Linked DNA regions of Homo sapiens: region 1 is linked to region 2. Evidence: promoter capture Hi-C in 16 types of primary human blood cells and fetal thymus (Javierre and others, 2016). All regions are on one chromosome and are shown on one strand. Each heading gives the region's core, a stretch centred on a gene start or on the middle of the fragment in contact. The rest is flanking DNA. Distances are from core to core; before and after follow the strand shown.

Region 1 (4,187 bases), core at 1,628-4,127, 1.0 Mb after region 2:
ATTTTGGGAGGCCAAGGCGGGCGGATCACAAGGTAAGGAGATACAGACCATCCTGGCCAACATGGTGAAACCCCGTCTCTACTAAAAATACAAAAATTAGCTGGGCCTGGTGGTGCACACCTGCAATCCCAGCTACTCAGGAGGCTGAGGCAGGAGAATTGCTTGAACAGGGGAGTCGGAGGTTGCAGTGAGCCGAGATCGCGCCACTGCACTCCAGCCTGGTGGTGACAGACCAAGACTCCAACTAGGAAAAAAAAGTATGTATTTATCATGTACCACATGATGTTTTTAAGTATATACATCACAGAATGACATGTCTAGCTAATTAACATATGTATTAACTCATCATATTATTATTATAGTGATGAGAACACTTTACATCCACTCTCTTATGTCAAGAATACATAGATTACTAACTGTAGTCATTATGCTGTACAGTAGAGCCACTTTTAGATATTTGTTTTATTGAACATTTTATTTCCATTAAATGAAATAGTATAGGAACACAATGAAAACACAGAGATGTTTAAGTACTTTCATTTTCAAATAAAATGACATGTTGATTTATTAACTGAATCAAAAAGCTAAGTACAACTTAAAACAATAAATACTATTCTTTCATTAAATTTTATTAGTAGTTAGTAATGCAAAGACTATTTTAAAAGCTAGTGCATATAGTGCTCTCTACTGGCCTTATCTTTATTACAACTACAATCAGTGTCGAGTTTGTAGTTATATGGGAACCATCATGAAAATCTTCTATACTGCAACTACAATCATCGTCAAATTTGTAGTTATGTAGGAAACATCATGATAAACTTCTGTCTCCGAAGACTAATAGTATTTTAATTTTAATTTCTTTTTGTTTTCTCCTTTAGGGGTGTGTGTGTGTATATGTATGTGCATTCAAAAACATTCATTCTTGAACTTCTATACTGAAGTCAGTTGTGAATTCTGCAAATAAGTTGCTGGCATACATCATCACAAATAATCATGTAATAAAGAGAAAATACAAAAAAGATGGATGTAGAACAATAACCGAACTGAAAACATTATGCCTTACATAAGTCAGTAGCAGCTACAATGCTTGCTTTTATTGTCTTTGGAGAAAACAAGTGAAGGCCTCCCAGGAGCAGAATGGGTGGGTGTGTATATTTAGGAAATCATGGTGGACAGTGACCACCATCATAAGCTCCTTTCTTTCTTTCCTCCAACACTCCTTACTTCCTGCACCATCTTCTAAAGACTCCAGAAATCTTACTGGTGCTTTTTTAAAGCTTAGGAAAAAATGTTGGAGTGGTTATGAAAGACATTTGCTTCAGGAGAAATAGAGAGAGAGAGAGAGATTGGTTCATTTATTCTATAATTTCATGTCTAGTTGATACTAAGTGCCACATGCTGTGCTAAGCACTAAACATTGAGCGGTTTTCAAAACCACCAATACCCAACTGGAATTATTGGTATTTGTAGGAATTATTCCTCAATAATATAAATGCAATTGAGGAAAGTACATCGTGCAATGAGAAAGCCTGTAACTGGTACATAAACCGATCTGGGATTCAGAAAGGATATCTCCAGAGCAGTAACACTTACGGTATAATGTGAAGAATGAGTATTAGATGTTAACCAAGCAAAGGTGAGGGTTGTAGAGACCATTCCAAGATCAGGTACCCTATGGGGTACCTTAGGCATGAAAGCACTTGGCCCTTTCAAAAAGCAGAGAGAAAGGTCAATGTGGCTTAAGGAAGCAGAACCAGAGAGTCTGCCAAGCTAAGGTAAAAATAACAGGTCTTGAAAGCCACATGAGGGATTTTGGATTTCATCCCAAGAGAAATGGGAAGTTATGGGAGTAGTCTTAAATAGCAGAGTAAGTGAAATAAAGAGATTTGTATTTTCTTTAATATCTGAATGCAATGTGAAGAGTGATCAGGGTGCAGGGAGCAGGTATAAATTAGAAGTGACCATTAAAGAGGTTATTCAGCAATCCAGGTAAGAAAGTACAGTGGTTTGGACTACAAAGATGGAATTGAAATTCAATGAAGTGGATGGATCCCAGAAATGCTTGAAGGATAACACCCATGGCCTTTGGTAAGATTGTATGCAAGTGGTAAAGGAGACACAATATTAAAAAGTGCCTCCTAGGCTTCTGACATGAATGAATGGATAAATGGCGGTAGGAAATATTGAAGGAAAAATTGGGAAGAAAAGTTAGTTTTCAACTTATGAAGTTTGACATCAAAGTTTGACACTTTTGAGATGTCAAAATGGTTATGTCATAATTGATGAACTATGAGTCTGTAGCTAAGAAAAGTCCTGAACTAGAGGTATAAACTTGGAAACCATTTGAATTATAATTGAAATTACTAGAGAGGAGGAAACCACACAAAGAAAGACTACTGAATGGGGAGTGTCTCACACTAAACCCTGATGAAATCCTACATTTAAAGTTCATATAAAGGAAAAGGATCCAGGAAAGGAGAAACAAGAGGTAGAAGGAAAACTAAGAGAGACTGATAACATACACAGCAAGGGAATACAAAAGAAATGGGCGCTGTGTCACAAGCGCTGCTGAGAGAATAAGAGCCAACCTGAACAAAGACCCTGGATTTAGTGATATAAGAAACAAAGCCATGTACTGAGACCAAACTAGGTCTGAGAAGAGTACAGAGTATTGAAATAAATATTGCATAGAGGTTTTTTTTGTTTTTCTTTTTTTAAGTGTGTGTGTGTGTGTGTGTGTGTGTGTGTGTGTGTGTATATATATATAAAACTTACATATATACACATATATGTGTATATATAAGTGATATACATAAGTTATATACATATAATGTGTATATATATGTTATATATATAGAAGTTATATATATAGAGAGAGTTAATAAAATGTATATATATAGAGAGAGAGAGAGAGAGAGAGAGTTAATAAAAGTGGATCGAGGTCCAGGTTTAATCAGTTTTTGAAGGATCTGCTTCACCTGAGTTGATGGATACTGCCTTGGCCATATAGGTTCTTCCATTCTCAATCCTCTTAAATGCCAAAATATGGACTCTATGAGTAGCTTTGTGAATTACTTCTTTTAATAGTCTTCAAAGTAATGCGTAATACTCTATAGTTCGGCTATTGCTTAGTGGCCTCAATTTCTCCATAGAGCACTGAACTGATTTGGAGCAGATGATCTTTCCCATCATGACTGCCTGACTGAGTAAACGTGGATGGAGGAAACCCTCATGACTCCAGGAAACTTCCTGTTCAGGATTTTCCAATGTGGCCATCATTTTTCTAAAGCAATACACTGCTAATTCTATATTGTTTTATGATTAATGTTTAGTACATGATTCTAGGCCTACTAAAATATTTGAAGCTGATTTTTACTTCTTTATTTCTATTTGATGTTACTTACTATGCACCCATATACATTGATTCTGTCTTTGGTGCACACAGAGAGAAAGCAACTCAAAAAAAAAAAAAAAAAGAAAAGAAAAGAAAGAAAGACAGCCCTGATATTGACAAATATATCATAGAACAAGTTGCATCCATCTGAACATGTTGCTCCAGAATCAAGACAAAATATGAAAACATTTTTGAGCCATAATGGAATTTGATACTCATTACGAGTATCAAATTTAACCAACAGTGGAAAATGAAATGAGACCCAGAGAGATTATATCAACTGCCCCACTATTCCTAGTTGGTGAGGAACAGGGCTGAGACTGAAGTCCAAGTTTCAACCAGTCCAGTGCCCTTTATACTACACTGTGTTATTACACTAGATTGTAAATTCCACAAGTAGAGGGACAATGTTTGTTTGCCACTGCATATTCATTGCTTGGCATTTTACTGATACCCAATAAATATTTGTGAATAAAAGAAGTAGAAGGCCAGCACAGTGGCTCACGCCTGTAATCCCAGCACTTTGGGAGGCCAAAGCAGGTGGATTGTTTGAGCCCAGGAGTTCAAGAACAGTCTGGACAACATGGTGAATCCCCGACTCTACAAAAAAAAAAAAAAATACAAAAATTAGCTCAGCATGGTGGTGCGGCCTGTAGTCCCAGCTCCTTCAGGTGGGGTTTGAGGCAGGAGGATCACTTGAACCCAGGAGGTCAAGACTGAAGTGAGCCATGATCACACCACTGCACTCCAGCCTGGGCAATAGAGCAAGATCCTGTCCCAAAATATAAATAAA
Region 2 (4,569 bases), core at 1,213-3,712:
ATAAAGATATATCTACACAACACCAAACTGACCACTGAATTCAGTTAATCAGGAAGACATTGGTAAGTCTGACAATTCTTGTAACGTGTGAATATTGAGAGGAGAAAAAAAGATCTTAAGAAGGCAGTTAAATGTATTTTCTCTTCCTCCCTAAACCAGTATCACAATAATGTAAATATCAAAACTTTTCGTCTTCCTCTAAGCCAATACAACTGGGTTCCTCCACAACAATAGTAACTTTAAATTTCTATTTGACAATTTGAATAAAACATATTGATGCGAACCATTATCCAATTATCCTGACCTCCTACAGTAATAATCGTCTTTCAAAATCTGTTTCACACTAAAACGTGTAAAGTACACTTGAAAGAAATTTGAAGATTCATCTTATATAATTACATTATCATTTTTAATGCCAAAAGTTTCCTTCATTCTCAACACCATGGTTTTAAAATTTTACGAGTTATGATATGCCTTAAATAAACTTCACCCAAATAAAAAGTTTGCTATGCATTAGAGAATCTAAATTAATGAAATTGAGAAAGCGCTAGACACCCTGCTATATTTTTACTGGGTGCCACATTTTTAATTCCATATTTGTCCTGCAATGTGTCAATCATTTCAATATATCCAGTCAACTTTGTAAACAAAGGCTATACTCCAAGTCTGATAAGAGAATTCCATTACACAAAATTTAAAATGGTCATCACTCCCTTAAACAGTAAGCAGGACAAGGAAAAATGTCACTACACACCTTTTTTTTAAAAGGCATCAAGTTAATATTCATGAAATATAAAGCCTTGAGTTTCAACCTCCCAAACAAGTTTTTACTACAACATTATTCAAAATAAGGCTATGCATCTTCCACACACAACCAAGGCAACTTTGAGATAGCTTACAAGTCTTTTCATTGTTAAGGGGAAGCTATCGCTGCAAAGTCATTTTCTATTACAGTTATTCCAAGTTGCCCGCTAAGAAAATAGAAAAAGCCTATGTTTTGTCACCTATTACCGTCACTTAAAAATTGCTTTTTATGCATAACTCTACGTGGTTGTGTTGCTTTTGGCCTGTTAAAGGCAAGGCAACATTATCTCTGGATTGCCAATAGTTTCTCCTTATTTGGCTAACATTGAGAGATCCCAATCAGACTACTATAAAACTTTAATATGCACAAAGCATCCATTTTGAGAAAAGTTTGTGACCAGCTTTCTTTTTTCCCAACCCCAAAAGAAAAACCAGAGCTTGGTAACCGGCTTTGAAAAGAGTGTCCCCTATTTATTCTTCTCTTTCTAACACCAGTGCACACCCGAGGACCTGGGGCTCAAGGATCTCTGACACTGCGGCAAACTTCGAGTATCAGACTCAACACGTTCCGGTCCGGAGGTGGGCAAGCCCTTTAGAGGGCTTCCTTACTCTACCCACTTCCATCCCCTTCCTTTCAGCCGGTGCAGATCAGCTAATTACACCCTGTTTTCCCCTCCCCAGTGACCAAGAGTAATAAATGAGAAAACAGGAAATCGTTCGTTCAGGGCACTCGGCTTAGGGCTCTAGATTACTATTATTATCATCATTTGTAATCAAGTCCTAAAAAGTGCAACAAATCCAATGCCCACCTACAAGTCAAAGATGTTCATCTGCCTAACCGTCCGTAATGCCCCTTGTTAGTTTTCTTCCTTCAGCATCCACCCCTCCGAATATACCACTGACACCGGGGCCCAGGCACAACCCCACTACACCCCTCCTTGTCTCGACCCCAAATCCCAGACTTATCCACGAATGGCCCTGGGGCCCCAAACGACCACAGTTCCTTTTCCCCTATGCCCCGGAAATCACCCGGTTCCCAACTCCACCAGCAACTGTTCTGAAGGGGGGCCTCAAGCCCAGCGCCCTCCCTTCCACCAGCTCTCCCTCCCGCCCTCTGGGGAAACCGCCCCCTCACCCCGCAGCAGGGAGTCTCCCGCCGCCCCCAGCCTCAAGAGGTGGAGAACTGAGGGCAGGCCCGAGCAGGAGGCCGACGAGAACCCTCACGGTCAGGAGAGCCGGCGGCGGGGCGCACAGACCTGGTGCAGGGCAGTGAGTCCGTCCACATTGGCGTAATTGATGTCGGCGCCGCGGTGCAGCAGCTTGAGGACCTCGTCCGTGTCGCCGCTGGAGCAAGCAGCCAGGAAGACGGCGCCATCGTCGAACTTCACCTTGGTCTTCTGGCGCTTCACCACCGGAGGCTCGAGGTCCGTCTCGGAGCCGATCCAGCGTTTCAGCTGCTCGTTCCGCTTCTGCTTCGCGTCCGCCATCTTCATCCCCTCTCCTGCCGCCGGGTCTTCTTATCGCGAGGGGGGGAAGGGGGAGGCGGAGAGGGAAGAGAGGGGAGGCAGGGGGTGTGTGAATGTTTCTATGAGTGCGGGCCAGAGGAGGGCTGGGAACCCGGAGCCGACGCTCGAGACTTCCAGTATCCCACAGAGCACTGGGGCGGCGCACCCGGCCGAGCGGACCTCCCTTCCTACCACAGAAGCCCTCCCGCCCCCAGCACGGCCACCCGTCACCGGCGGCCAATCTAACGTAACTTCGCGAGATCCGGACTGGGAGGCGCCCTTCGACCAGTGCGCATGCGCCCTGGGCCTGTGCCCGCCCCAGGAAGAGCGCTCCCGCGAACTGCGGCGGTGGTGGCTGGGCCACCAGAGGGAAGCGGGTGTGGCCCAGGCAGCGGGGGCTGGGACAGACCTGGAAAGGAGGAAGCGGGGAAGGAAGGTTGTCCTGTCGGGCTGGGGGCTCCCGGGAATCCGGAGGCCAGCAGTGGAACCGCAAGGCTCTACAGGGCAGATCTGCCTCCCGTGCTGTCTCAGCTACGCCGAGTCGTTGGCTCAGGGCGGAGGATTTTCCTATTGGCCGCGTTATTTGAATGGAATGGAGGATAGGTCGTGAAGTAGGTGCTGCTGGTTGATCTTTCTAAGGAACTCAGATGAACTTGGGCATGTCAGAATTAATAACCTTTTAAAAGTGGGGTCTGTGTGGCCGAGGGTTTTAATGGTAAGTTCTTGAGGTGACCACCTATTGACAAGGGTTGACCTGCTGTAATTGCTGTGGCTTCCTGCCAACCCCCACTTTAGAAATGTTTTTCTTCCTCTCTTTACTTGTTTTGTTTTGCTTTCTCTCACGCTTGGGTTCTCTTCTTTCTTCCTTCAGTGCTTTAAGCCTGTCTCGTACTACCCATGAGCTTAGCTCAGCCTGATTACTGGTCCTTACCTTTTAAGGGATTTCTGGTTACAGCTCCATCTCTTTCTAAGGAGGGGTAAAGACCTAGCTGCGTCTAGCATTTAAACGGAACGTTAAGGAAGGCAATTAATTCAACCACTATTTATTGAATACCTACTATGAGCCAGTAACTGTACTAGGCACTGAAGATACAATGAAAAATATGACATTTATTTGAACCACCTCTTGAGTTCAGTCGCCCAAACAAGACTAATTTATCATCGTCATAAAAAAAAGACTTTAACTTTGCCTTGTATGACCACACGCGCACACACATAGGATTTGTAATACTGATGTCTTATGAGCCATCTATCTACAATCTCCACCAATTGATTTTACTGAACACTGCATTGTTACCATCCACTACTATTTTTAGAGCATTTAGAAAAGCCAAGATAAAAACCACAAAACCTTACCATGGAAGTTTAGGGGTCATCTAGACAGAGTCCCTCAAGAACTAATTAATTTACTTAATTTTACCCAGAAGTAGGATTAGAATTCACTCAGCAAATACTATGCACCTGTTCTGGGTCAGGCATTGTTCTAGGTGCTGGAGATAGAGCAGTGAACAAATAAGCTTTTCTTACTCTCAGCATGATGCCTTTTCCAGTGGACTACTTCACAGCCTATCATATTGAGAAATAAAATAATTGAGTAAAACGTGATTAGGAAACTGTCTGCCTGTGAGACAATTTTCTGAACCACAGTTATTAGGATAGCGATAGAATCCAGGTCAGGGTAAAAATATTTCCTCTGAAAACGTTGTAGGAATAGAAAATGAATGTAATATTCATAAGATATACCATTGTATGTTCATTACATACATTAAAGATAACATCAGACCTTTGAATACTCATGGTGTTAGGTACTGAAAAACATTGTTAGCACTAAAATACAAAATCCCTATCCACAGAATACAGCTCTCAGAATAAAAGAAAGGAACTTGAGGATTGCCTTGTCAGCTCCTGTCTCTACCTAGGCAACTGACAGCATATCCTGTTTTCCAAGAACGTTATGGCCTATGTGGTAGCTCTTAAAGTGCCCTTGCAGTATAGATGGGAATCTGAAGATTTCATTCAGGCAAAAGGAATTTAGTGGGAAGTATGCTATTCCTGATTCAAGCACTTATTTCAGGATGCAAAATTAATAATAGTTTATTAATAAAACATAATTAAGTTCATTCAGTTCCCAGAAGCTGTCAGGGAAAAAACAACCAAGGAGGGCTGCTATCATGTGCAAATTTCACTGAATTTAGTTTTTCTTCTTTCGTGGCTCTAAGGGTCAAGATGCTCTATGTTAATATTGAAAGTACTCTGAAAC

What was found. The method cuts DNA at HindIII sites, captures the fragments that hold promoters and counts their contacts. A CHiCAGO score of 5 or more calls a contact.
Region 1: a contact is called between a fragment that was not itself captured here and the fragment with the promoter of PPP1R12A in region 2, in 1 of 17 cell types (neutrophils). The highest score is 5.3, in neutrophils.

The regions. Positions count from the first base shown.
Region 1 is chr12:80,946,113-80,950,299 of GRCh38, forward strand. No RefSeq gene overlaps it. Among named protein-coding and RNA genes, the nearest start is that of LIN7A, 10 kb to the left of the region's middle. The HindIII fragment of the contact is 3,205 bases long and covers 1,276-4,187 here.
Region 2 is chr12:79,932,635-79,937,203 of GRCh38, forward strand. PPP1R12A (protein phosphatase 1 regulatory subunit 12A) reads right to left here and starts at 2,463. Exons shown (of 25, transcript NM_002480.3): 1 at 2,061-2,463. The coding sequence starts at 2,297. PPP1R12A-AS1 (PPP1R12A antisense RNA 1) reads left to right here and starts at 2,647. Exons shown (of 2, transcript NR_146535.1): 1 at 2,647-2,920. RefSeq lists enhancers at 1,283-1,848, 1,649-1,708, 1,849-2,412, 2,049-2,348, 2,395-2,689 and 1 more and a silencer at 1,879-1,968. The HindIII fragment of the contact is 9,894 bases long and covers 1-3,824 here.